Regions from separate parts of the Homo sapiens genome. Here regions 2 and 3 are each linked to region 1. Evidence: promoter capture Hi-C in human tissues and cell types (Jung and others, 2019). All regions are on one chromosome and are shown on one strand. The core of a region is centred on a gene start or on the middle of the fragment in contact, and the rest is flanking DNA. Distances in the headings are between cores, read along the strand shown. Region 1 holds the start of NOLC1 (nucleolar and coiled-body phosphoprotein 1). Region 2 holds the start of TRIM8 (tripartite motif containing 8). Region 3 overlaps SUFU (SUFU negative regulator of hedgehog signaling).

Evidence for each region. The method cuts DNA at HindIII sites, captures the fragments that hold promoters and counts their contacts. A contact is called where the count stands out against the background at its distance.
Region 2: a contact is called between the fragment with the promoter of TRIM8 here and the fragment with the promoter of NOLC1 in region 1, in 1 of the 25 tissues and cell types used here (spleen).
Region 3: a fragment that was not itself captured here is called in contact with the fragment with the promoter of NOLC1 in region 1 in 2 of the 25 tissues and cell types used here (dorsolateral prefrontal cortex and lymphoblastoid cells).

What each region holds. Positions count from the first base shown.
Region 1 is chr10:102,150,673-102,154,765 of GRCh38, reverse strand. It overlaps NOLC1 (nucleolar and coiled-body phosphoprotein 1), which reads right to left and starts at 2,377. Exons shown (of 13, transcript NM_004741.5): 1 at 2,236-2,377. The coding sequence starts at 2,355. RefSeq lists enhancers at 2,267-2,316, 2,487-2,786, 1,692-2,891. The HindIII fragment of the contact is 9,767 bases long and covers 1-4,093 here.
Region 2 is chr10:102,642,113-102,646,205 of GRCh38, reverse strand. It overlaps TRIM8 (tripartite motif containing 8), which reads right to left and starts at 1,727. Exons shown (of 6, transcript NM_030912.3): 1 at 1,019-1,727. The coding sequence starts at 1,588. It overlaps TRIM8-DT (TRIM8 divergent transcript), which reads left to right and starts at 3,017. Exons shown (of 1, transcript NR_186489.1): 1 at 3,017-3,414. RefSeq lists silencers at 76-292, 1,578-2,557, 2,638-2,737, 3,008-3,067, 3,398-4,027 and enhancers at 468-567, 1,348-1,477, 1,579-2,334, 2,335-3,089. The HindIII fragment of the contact is 20,827 bases long and covers 1-4,093 here.
Region 3 is chr10:102,564,321-102,568,413 of GRCh38, reverse strand. The region is part of intron 3 of SUFU (SUFU negative regulator of hedgehog signaling); the gene reads right to left. Among named protein-coding and RNA genes, the nearest start is that of SUFU, 62 kb to the right of the region's middle. RefSeq lists an enhancer at 2,037-2,736. The HindIII fragment of the contact is 7,279 bases long and covers 1-4,093 here.

The DNA.
Region 1 (4,093 bases), core at 1,128-3,627:
CACCTGATCAGGAATTTGAGACCAGCCTGGCTGGTATGGTGAAACCCCATCTCTACTAAAGATACAAACATAAGCTGGGCGTGGAGGCGGGCGCCTGTAATCCCAGCTATTTGGGAGGCTGAGGCATGAGGCTGAGGCACAAGAATCGCTTCAACCTGGGAGGCAAAGGTTGCAGTGAGCTGAGATTGCACCACTGCACTCCCGCCTGGGCAACAGTGAGACTCTGTGGTCCAAAAAAGAGTAAATGATCAGAGTCAGTACAGATGGGAACTCACCTTTGGACAAATTACCTTATCTCCCTGAGATTATTTTCTTTTCTATAAAATGGAGATAATACTACACATCTCATTAAGTTATTGAGAGGATAAGACATAATGCATGTTGGCCGGGTGCGGTGGCTCACACCTGTAATCCCAGCACTTTGGGAAGCCGAGGCAGTAGATTCTTGAGGTCAGGAGTTCAAGAGCAGCCTGGCCAACATGGTGAAACCCCGTCTCTACTAAAAATACAAAAAAAAAAAAAAAAAATTAGCCAGGCATGGTGGGGCACACCTGTAGTCCCAGCTACTTGGGAAGCTGAGGCAGGAGAATCACTTTAGCCTGAGAGGCAGAGGTTGCAGTGAGCTGAGATCGTGCCACTGCACTCCAGCCTGGGCGACAGAGCCAGACTCCGCCTCAAAAAAAAAAAAAAAAAAAATTAAATGCATGTGAAGGGCGTAGCATCTGACCCTTAGTTAGCTCTTCACAAAGATTAGCTTTTCTCACATAAAACCATTTCAGAATCCTAATCCTGAGGCCGGGCACGGTGGCTCGCGCCTGTAATCCCAGCACTTTGAGAGGCTGAGGCAAGTGGATTTCTTGAGGTCAGGAGTTCAAGACCAGCCTGGCCAACATGGTGAAACCTCATCTCTACTAAAAATACAAAAATTAGCCGGGCGTGGTGGTACGCGCCTGTAATCCCAGCTACTGGGGAGGCTGAGGCAGGATAATCACTTGAACTTGGGAGGCGGAGGTTACAATGAGCCGAGATCGCACCATTGCACTCCAGCCTGGGCAACAGAGACTCCGTCTCAAAAAAAAAAAAAAAAAAAAAAGAATCCTAATTCTGAAATGTCCAATTCCATCCAGTCCACTGTGAAAGCACTCTCCGCAGTCTCCTTAACAGTCAACTCTAAACAGTTTCATTAAGAAAGCAGTTAGATCACATGGCAGCCTGTCCCAGCTTAAGGAAGTTTTGAGGCTGATCTGATTCTTTGCTTTCGCAGCCTGATTCTGCTAAAAGTGCAAGCCATCCTTCCTAGTCATGCTATCATCCCTGCTGAAGACCCCCCCTCTCTCCTCTCTCAAAGTGTCTTCCCATGCAGGAATGTCCGTTGATGTAGATTACAAACCTTTCACATTCCTGGTTCTCTTACTCTTACATGTGTTTGGAGCATCCTAAATTGCCATAACTATGGTACAGCTTTCACTTTTACAAGATTCCTCTGTACCAGCACTGAGATTGCTACTCTTACACATCATCTTACTGAAACTCACAAAAATCCTATAAAGTGGATGATGACATCCCTGTAGAAAGACTCAGAAAGGTTAAATAAACTGCCCGGGTCACGTATCTAAAAAGTGGCAGAGCCTGGTCCCAAACCTAGGTTTGTTTGATTCAATTAGCCAAAGCTCCAAGCCCACTACTATGCCTACTTGGTAGGGCTGTTGATGACTCTCAATTCTCAGTGTAACTCAAAACAAAACTCTGCTTCTACTTTCATTCATTTTCTTCTTTACAAACGAAAATCCCAGACTTCATTCTAAAGAAATTTCACTTGCTTTTGAATCCCAGTAAATGTGACTGAGGCTAAGGTCAAATCACGGTTTGCCTCACCCAACGAAAAGCCCCCCAGAAGATGCCGAAGAACCAACGTCCTCAGTGGAACAAGACTCTACCTCCCCGCTGCACTCTGCCAGCCATGTGGCTTGGGGCCACGAGGCTCCCACGCTGCCGCCGCTGCACAGGTCACAAGAAAAAAGCAACAAGACTCAGCGATATCTACTCAGACATGGAGGAAGGTAAGCGACCGAGGCCGCAGGCTTTCTCTGGTCACTGCCGAGGGGTCGGCGTAAAGGCCTTGCAGACACTGGACTGGCGGACCCCCAGACTTCCCCACCTGGAAACCTAAGCACGTCAGGGCCTGAAGCCTTGTGGTCATCTCAGCCCGGTCCCCGCCCCAAGCCCGGAACTCACAGCTCCTGTCGCTTTGGCGAACTTATTGGCCACCTCTGAGAGTTGGTTATCGCGCAGGAAGCCGAGCACGAGGGGATACAGGTCGCTGGGAACCACGCGGCGAATGCCGGCGTCCGCCATCCTCCAGGCAATACGCGTCACTACCGTTGTCGACGCAGCACGACTCAGGAACCCAACAGGGGCAGTGGGCGGGCCTGTGTTACGTCATTGCGCCGCGCGGGCGCATAACGGAAAGGGTGGGCTCCACAGGGCAGTCCCACCTTCACCTCAGAGGTAGGGTAGACGGGAAATCTATAAACTCTTTCCGGTCCCACGCGTATCGCCATCTTGGTTAAGGGCGGAGCCCACCGGCCGCCAGCTTGTGGAGGCGGAGCTCTGACGTCAGGGATCACGCCCTCGGCGTGGCGGGAAAACTCGGGACTTCCCGCGCAGTCTTTCTGGGGGAGGTACCTTTTCTCAGAGCAGCGGTTTCCCGCGCCCCTGCTGGGACTCGGATTCCAGAGTAATGAGTGGACAAGCGGGCTCGAACAGTTGTTCTACAAGATCTCCCAACCGCCCCCATGGCGTACTGGCACGGCCAATGGATTCTCGCCCTTCATCTTCACTGCCTCCAATACCCAGGGAGGCCCTTTCTGATACCATCCCAGCCTCCAGACTCCTGCCTCTGCTGCAGAAGATCCTTCGGGTTATCCGTCGTGAGGGTGGGAGGTGTTGATTTCCCAAGCTGCCCCTCCCATCTCCCTTATATTCCGCCTTAGGTCAGCTCCATGAAGAGGAAAGGTGTCATGCACCAAACCTGAATCACACACAGCAACAATCTATTCAAGCTGAAGAGATTGTTGAAAATAACCCTTCTTCCTCCGGGATCAGAGTTCACACTCTGCCTTTGTCATGAGTAACTCCAGTATCAATGCCTTTGTCATGAGTAACTCCAGTATCAATGCTCAGACCTACCAAGTTAATTCCAAGTTCTGCCACATTCCAGATATTAGCAGTTAGCAATCCCTTCAATCCTACCCACTACCCCTTGGCTACCTCCCACTAATGCCGCTCAGGAAAGATAAGGATCCTCATGGGAACACACCCCCCTCTCCTATATAAAATTGGCCAGGCATAGTGGCTCACAACTGTTATCTCAACACTTTGGAAGGCCTAGGTGGGAGGATCCCTTGAGCCCAGGAGTTAAGAGGCCAGCCTGGACAACACAGTGAAACCCCCCTATCTCTACAAAAAATTTTTAAAATTAGCCAGGTGTAGTGGCATGCACCTGTGGTCCCAGCTACTTGGGAGGCTGGGGCAGGAGGATCAACTGAGCCAGGGAGGTCAAAGCTGCAATGAGCTATGATCCTGCCACTGCAATCCAGCCTGGGCCACAGAGTGAGATCCTATCTCAAAAATCAAAAACAAAGCTGGGCACGGTGGTTCATGCCTGTAATCTCAGCACTTTGGGAGGCTAAGGTGGGTGGATCACCTGAGGTCAGGAGTTCAAGAACAGCCCTGGCCAACATGGTGAAACCCTGTCTCTACTAAAAATACAAAAAAAATTAGCCAGGCATGGTGGCGGGTGCCTGTAATCCCAGCTACTCAGGAAGCTGAGGCAGGAGAATCACTTGAACCCGGGAGGCAGAGGTTGCAGTAAGCCAAAATCGTGCCACTGCACTCCAGCCTGGGAGACAGAACAAGACTCCATCTCCAAAACAAAACAAAAAAATTCAAAAACAGAAACAAAAAACTCCACAGTTCCCTCTTCCCCACGCTTCCTGTTCTACCCACATGCATGCATTATTTAAAACATTTGAGCACCTGCTGTGCCATGCAGTGTGCTCAAGCTATTATAAAATGATGAACATAACTGACA
Region 2 (4,093 bases), core at 478-2,977, 490 kb before region 1:
GGGAGGGACCTAGGAGGAGCCCCCTCCACTGAAGGGGACGGAAGTATTGCCTCAGTCCAGCTCCAAAACCAGGCCCAGAGGCCTGAGGGGGGAGGCGGTTTGACATTGGCCGCGGCCGCAGGGTGTATACAATGGGAGGGGACGCGGTTCCGTAATCACCCAGCCGGCAGCCCAGGGGAGCCAGCTGCCTGAAACCAGATTTCAAGGCGGCTCAACCTTAAACCCACAGGATTCTTTTTCCGTCTTCCACTTCCCCTCCCCAAATGTGGGAGGGCGGCGAGAGGGCTGTGCTAGGCGAAAGGGCCAGGATGATGAAGACAGATACTTGAAGGCTTGTTCATGCGGCCCGTGCGACACACAGGCACACAGGGCAGCGATTCTCACACAGGGAGAGCCGGCTCTCGGGAGGAATCCAAATAGCGGAGCCGCTGTCGGGGCCTCGCTGGCTGCCCAGGCCCTGTCCAGAGAGACGGCCGGAGTTCTGCTCTCCCTCTGGAAACTCCCCCCACTCCCCCCCCAGTGTGTTTCCAATAGCGCTGAAAACTAACATGGCTGCTTTTGTTTACTTCCTCATTGGTATGCCAGCATCATGGATCATGTCAGCCACAGCAGCGGCACCGGGACACTCATTACATAAACAGCAGCTGGAGAGGCAGGACCGGGGTCACTGCCTCGGTGACTTCCCGTAGGGCCTACAGCAACAAGACTGGGGGAGGGAGCTGCGCACCACAGAAAAGCAACACCCAGACTCTACCCCTGACGGTCCCACACCCCAATCCCATAAAGCACTCAGAAGACGGACCCTGTGCGCACAGGTGCGAGAATGTACCAAGTAGCGACCCGGGGCCCTTCTTCCCAGGACCCTGTCCCCAAACTTTCAGAGAAGAGTTTGGCCAGGGGCCACTGGCCTGATGTCACAAGAGTCAGCCTGTCGGGATGGGTGGTCCCGGGGCGGGAGAGAGGAAGGGACTGTGTGTCTGTGTGTGTGTGTGTGCGCGCGCGCGCGTAGGGTACTTGCCCGGATTTCATTCCTTCGGATCTCCACGTCGCACACCGAGTGTCCCTGATGCGCGCCGCTGTAGTAGCAGCAGTACTGGCACACGGCCACCTGCTCGGCCTCGCAGTGGTAGAGGCGGTAGGCGTTGTGCTGCGGGCAGCTCCAGGCCCGCACGTCGTCCGCCTCCACCAGGAGGTGCCCGCGGGCGGTGGAGGGCTGCTGCAGGTGCGTCTGCACGTGGGACTGGCAGCAGGGCGCCTCGCAGCGCAGGCAGACCTTCTGCGCGGGCAGCGGGGGGCCGCGGCGGCAGAACACGCAGTGCAGCGCCGCCGGCGGCTTCTCCACGTGCAGGGCATTGAACTTCTCCACGATGTTGGTGAGCTTCAGGTTCTTCTCCAGGCCCGGCTTCTGGTTGTAGGCCTGGTTGCACTCTGGGCAGCGTACGAGGCCGCTGTCCTTGGCCCACGCCTCGCCGATGCAGCCCCGGCAGAAGTTGTGTTTGCACGGCAGCTGCACTGGCTCCACGAAAACGTGCAGGCAGATAGGGCAGATGAGCTCCTCCTCGAAGCAGTTCTTCCAATTCTCCGCCATGGCGGCCGCGGGCAGGGGGCCGGGGCAGGCCTCCCCGACTCCCCAGCCCCGGGGGTCCGTCCGGAGCCGCTGTAGGCCCACCGAGCCCCGAGCTCCGGCCCCAGCCGGCCCCGACGGTCGCTCAGTCAGCAGCGCCTTCCGCGTGCCCGCCCCCCGGAGGAGGGAGCCGCGGTCCTCACGCCGCGCGCGCAGCGGGCTGCGTCTCCTCCTCCTCCCGAGCGCCTAGCGGGAGGCGGCGGACTGCGCCAGGGCCGCGGCCGGGACTCCAGCCTTGGAGGGGAGCGCCGGGGTCCAAATTCCATATAAGAGGCCGCCTCCCCGTCGGCGCGGCTAGGGCAGTGGCGGCCCGCGGCCTGCGCTCGTCCCCGCGGCTGACATTGGGGCGCGCCCCGCGGCAGACGGAGCTTGGGAGCAGCACACTTCTTCCGGCGGCGGCGGCAGCGGCGGCTCCTGCCTGGCTCGTCGGCGCCGCACCTCCCTCGCAGGGGCCGGAGCCCGGGGTCTGCGGGGCCAGGAGGCGAGGGCGGCCGCGCCGAGGGCTGCTAGATCCGGACGGGGCGGGAGGGGCAGGCCGGCGGTCCCCGGGCCACGGTGCAGGCGTCCCCCGGCTGGCTGGCCGGGCGCGGGCTGCGGGGCGCGGGCGGGCCGACTCCGGGGCGCTGCGTGCGCGCAGGGGCAGTCATTCAGATGAAATTCCAGTCCCCGGCCAGAGACACCAGCCCGCCTCTGCCTTCCTCCTCCCTTCACAAATAGAAACGGAAGGGGGAGGGAGAGAAGTGGAAAAAAAGGCAACCGGCGAGGGAGGGAGGGAGAAGCCCCGGCGGCGCTCCGGCCTGACCCCCGGGCGGCTACTTCTGCGCTCCCCCGAGGCCCGGCGCCCCCGCCGCGGAGAGACCCCGCGCGCCCGTCTCCGCGCTGGGCGGGCGCCCGGGCTCTGCCGAGGAAAACAAGGATTGATCAAACTAGAAAGGAATTTTTCTCAACTGCTAATGAACAGGAGGCTCGGCTCCCGGCCCTCCCCTCCCCTCCCCCGGCCCTCCCCCTTCGCCCCCCCGGCCCCCTCCTCCCCACTTTCTTTTCTTCTCGGCCTCTGCTGGGGCCTGGAAGGCTCGGGGCTGCGGTCGGAGCCAGCCTGCGGCGGCGGGGCCAGGCCGAGCCGCCACCCTCAGCGCCCAGCCATCTTGGGCTCCGCGGCGGCGGCCGGGGTCTGGGCGCGCTCGCTGAGGGCCCCGCGGCGTCCTCTCGCTCCTGATTCTTTTTTTTTTTTTTTTGGTGGGATTTTTTTTTTTCCAAGGGGAGGGCTGGCGGCCTCCAACAAATTAGGAGAGAGAGAGGGAGAAAATGCCAAGTCCCGATTTCTCTCCACCTCTGCTCCACCCACCCCGGTCCTGTCCAAAAAATAAAAGAAGATGAGAATTGGAAGAAGTCGGCAGAAAGGCGAGAGCCCGCGGTCCCCGGCTGCTGCCCAGGCGACGCGTCCGGGGCGGGCCCGCACCCGTTGCTCGGTCCGAGGTCCGTCTGTCTGCCCGCGGCTTCTCAAGGGAGGGGAGGGCGCTTCGGGCAGGGTCTCCGCAGCCGCTGTCGCCTCAGAGCTTTATCCTCAGATCAAAAAAGAAAAAACAGGAAGAAAAAAATCCCAACCCCAACACTCTCATCACAGCCACCTTCAGCCATCTTGCGCGTATTATTATTTCAGGAATAATCTGTTTAATAAAAATACCTGCGTATCCAGCCCCTCCCCCGCGTCCTGGGGTCCCCGCCCCCTTTTAATAATAATCTCGATAATAAAAACGATCGGCGGGCCGGGCAGTCCGTGGCGGCCCTTTCCTGCCTCGACTTGCTCGGGCCCGGCTCTCCCCCCGCGAAGGGGCGCCCCGGGGTGGGGGTGCGTCCCCGTCACCCGCGCGGGGAGGAAAGGGCGCCCTCGCCGCCGCCGCGAGGAAGGCGGCGGCGGAGATGCCGCGGCCCGCGGGACCAGCCGGAGGGGCACTCGGGGGTCCCGGGGCCCCCGCCACGGCCCGGCCTGGGAGTCCGCAGCCGGCCGTATACAATGGGTTCGGAGCAGAGCGGGGCAGGCAGGGTGGGGAAACGGGAGGGCCAGGGGCTGCAGCGAGCCGAGCTCCCGGGCTGGGGCGGAAGGAGACGGGGGGTGGTGTCCCTACATCAAGGCCGGTCCCGCTACTCGGGAAGGGGGCGGAGAGCTGCGGCGCTGGGGGGCGAGGAGAAAGCGGCAGGCGGCGCCTTTAATCGGCACCCGCCGGTTCGGCCCACCCGGCACTGGCGAAAGAAACGGGCGCGGTGGGGGGGAAGGGGCGGGGCGTGCTTTCCGGAAGTACAGTTACAGGGCCGGGCGCCCGGCTCCTCCCCCTTTCCCTGTCGCGTTGGGGCTGTTCCGGAGGCTGCTCCTGCTATTGGCCCACAAGCTGAGGCTCCACCTCCCTAAGGCGGGGCAGACCCGAGAGTCTCACGTGACTCTCACAAACTTCGGTACATTAAACATTGGGA
Region 3 (4,093 bases), core at 549-3,048, 410 kb before region 1:
ATATATTTATTTAAGTTACAAAGTAACATAGGCTTATTATAAGAGAGTCAAACAACAAAGAAATGTATAAAGTAAAACATGAAAATCTCTTTTCCCATCAGTCCCATTTCTCAGCTATTAACATTTGCTGTTAACATCTGATATGCAGTCTTTAAGACTTTCTTTTCAGCATGTATAATCAAAGTCATACTTTTTTTTTTTTTTAAGTAAAAATGAAACTCCACTCTACCCATTGTTCTGCGACAAGGTTTCTTTATGTTTTCAGTGTTGCCTGGATTTTTTTAATGTCCTTTTTGTAATTAGGGAAAACAATAATGTTATATTTGTTTGGGGGAATAAAAGTGTACCAGCCAAGGACAGAAGACAATGAATGTGTGATGTGAGTGGCCCAGTAAAGAGAAGCAAAGGACAAGGTTTTCCTGTGTTCAGATCACCACGGTACTCAATACAGGAGGACCTAGACATGCCCGGTTGGCCCAGGAGGTTGATAGTGTCCTGTTCTTCCTAAATCTTCAAAGCCAAACATAGGCTGCTGGAGCTAGGCCTGGGGCTAGGGGATATTGGGCTATAGCCTCTCCCAGAGATGTGTTCCCTGCCCAGCACAGTGCCCCAGGTATGCAGCTTCCACTGGGCCAAGCAGGACAAGGCAGAGAAGGACCCCCACTGCTGTTTCAGAGTCTACCTGCTGCATGCCAGCAAAACAACAATCCACTGCCTGGGTGTGCTGCAATCCCTCTTTAAAAGCACCCGAATTCCCTCCCTTTTCTCTTCCTCCCCTGGCTCAAGCTCCAACTGTCATCTGTCCAGAGAGAGGGCTCTGTGAGGAGTCAGAAATGCTGCTTGAACCTCATCAGAACCCTCGAGGGAGGGCCATTCTGTTCTCTTGGTCCTTGAGTCCTGGGAAGAACCTAAACAACAAGCTTGTCCTCATGTCTGCCCTGCAAGGCAAGAAGACAGGCCTGGCGGTGGAGACCCACTCCCAGGGAATCTCAAGCAGTACTGTGTATGGCTTACGGGTGCCAGTCATTTTCCACTGAGAGAGCTATGAAGAAACTGAGTAAGAAAGCCACTGCCCTGGCCTTTTTTTTTCTTGACAGGTTTTGGATGGGGCGCAGTGGCTCACGCCTGTAATCCCAGCACTTTGGGAGGCCGAGGCAGGCGGATCACGAGGTCAGGAGATCGAGACCCTCCTGGCTAACACAGTGAAACCCCGTCTCTAATAAAAATACAAAAAATTAGCAGGGCATGGTGGTGGGCACCTGTAATTCCAGCTACTAGGGAGGCTGAGGCAGGAGAATGGCATGAACCCGGGAGGCAGAGGTTGCAGTGAGCCGAGATTGTGTCACTGCACTCCAGCCTGAGCAACACAGCGAGACTCTGTCTCAAAAAAAAAAAAAAAAAAAAAAAGAGCCTGTTTCCTTTTCTTTTGCAATGTGCTTCTTAAACAACAACATAAACTTTTTTTTTTTTTGAGATGGAGTCGCTCTGTCACCCAGGCTGGAGTGCAGTGGCACAATCTCGGCTCACTGCAACCTCCGCCTTCCGGGTTCAAGTGATTCTCCTGCCTCAGCCTCCTGAGTAGCTGGGACTATACAGGTGCCCACCACCATGCCCGGCTAATTTCTGTACTTTTTTTTTTTTTTTTTTTTGAGACAGAGTCTCACATTATTGCCTGGGCTGGAGTGCAATGGCATAATCTCGGCTCACTGCAACCTCCGCCTCCCAAGTTCAGGCGATTCTCCTGCCTCAGCCTCCCAAGTAGCTGGGATTACAGGCGCCCGCCACCACGCCTGGTTTATTTTTTGTATTTTTTAGTAGAGACGGGGTTTCACTATGTTGGCCAGGCTGGTCTAGAACTCCTGACCCTGTGAGCCGCCCCCTTGGCCTCCCAAAGTGCTGGGATTATAGGCGTGAGCTACCGCGCCTGACCTAATTTTTGTACTTTTAATAGAGACGTGGTTTCACCATGTTGGCCCCGCTGGTCTCGAATTCCTGACCTCAGGTGATCCACCCATCTCAGCCTCCCAAAGTAATGGGGTTACAGGCGTGAGACACTGCACCCAGCCATAAATAATATTGATTGTTTCTATGTATAATGCTAGGGTCTGCATTAGGAACACTACCTATATTATGAAGTAGATATTACTATTACCTGTGTTTCACAGATGAAGTAACCAACTGTTAGAGATGTTCAATTTTGGTCCTACATGGCCCAACTAGGATTTGAACCCAGGCAACCTGCCATTTGGATTCCTGCTCTCAGCCATGTTCTTTTCCAGCCCTCTTCGCTGAACACTCTATCATGAGCAGTTTCCAGTCATCAAAGTGCTTTACCTCCTGCAGAGATGCTAGTTCTACTGTCCTAACTCTCCAGCGGCAATCTCTGCTTGCCAGTGGGCTTCACTGCCCTCTGCAGAAAGCATCCCTGAATTGCAAGTGCTAGAGACAAAAGGGCCACATTCCGCTGAAAGAGCCAACCAATTAAAACTCCACAGGGGTCCAGAGATGAGAGACCTTGTCCGAGGGTGAATTATCCTAGCTGAATGCCTGTATCAAATAAATGCTTTCGGCCAGGCGTGGTGGCTCACGCTTGTAATCCCAGCACTTTGGGAGGCCGAGGCGGGTAGATCACGAGGTCAGGAGATAGAGACCATCCTGGCTAACAAGGTGAAACCCCATCTCTACTAAAAATACAAAAAAAATTAGCCGTGCGTGGTGGCGGGCACCTGTAGTCCCAGCTACTCGGGAGGCTAAGGCAGGAGAATGCCGTGAACCTGGAAGGCGGAGCTTGCAGTGAGCCGAGATCGCGCCACTGCACTCCAGCCTGGGCGACAGAGCGAGACTCCGTCTCAAAAACAATAAATAGACTCTTTCTACTAAGAGTTTCAAGTCATTTAATGTAGTTCTCCAATGTAGGATACAGACCTATAGAAGCTAAAGGAACTTGCTAAAGAAAATCCTTCAGCAACACAGCAGGAGATGCATACCCCCCAACCCCAACAAACTCTAGGTACTGTAATTGATTCCTCTACCACAGGCCACAGAGCACAGGACCCAGCTAAGGCAACTCATTTCTCGGGACCTCTGAAATCTCACAGAGATGGCTACCTCTCCACCTGAGTTGTTATTCAGAAGTGGAAAACATTCTCTAAGTCAGTTGTCGGCCGACTTTTGCAGTGAACGGCCAGAGATAAAATATTTCAGGCTTTGAGGGCCATATCATTCTTGTTACAACTAGTCAACTCCACTGCTGTGGCACAAAAGAAGCCCAGGTAATCCATGATGGGTATGGCTATGTTCCAATATAATTTTACTTATAAAAACAGGTGATTATCAGGATTTGGCCTGCAGGCTGTACTTGCCAACCTCTGCTCTCAGGGTTTAAGTTTTCCCTAAAAATACCCAGATTTATATATTGGCTAAATCACTTAAATTTTAGGGCACAAACTCATTTCTGAGGGACTGACCTGTTTTTCTTCAGTGCAGTAGGAACACAATCTTTCAACTATTAATCTAAAATCTTAGGAAAGTGCAGAGAAATCAAGAGTTGTTTTGTCTTACAGTTGGTCAGTATTACTAACTGATAAAAGTGAAAATATTTCACAGATCCACAGCAACCAGAAAAGAGGATGAATCAGGTTGAGGCAAAGAAAATGTCAGGAAAATTAAAAAGAGTGTGAGGGAGAAAAATGATATGAATATAACCAGGCAGCTCCATTTGGCTTTAGTTAGCTGACTGGGGCAATAGGCAGCTTAGCGAAACCAGGAAACGAGAGCTTGAGGTTGGGTGCGACGGCTCATGCTTGTAACCCCAGTACTTTGGGAGGCCAAGGCGGGTGGATCACTTGACCCCAAGAGTTGGAGACCAGCGTGGCCAACATGGCGAAACCTCATCTCTACTAAAAATACAAAAATTAGCCGGGTGTGGTGGTGCACGCCTGTAATCCCAGCTACTCAGGAATCTGAGGCATGAGAACAGTATGAACCTAGGAGGTGGAGGCTGCAGTAAGCCGAGATCACACCACTGCACTCCAGCTTGGGTGACAGAGTGAGACTCTGTCTCCAAAAAAGAGAGATACAGCTTGACAGCTCT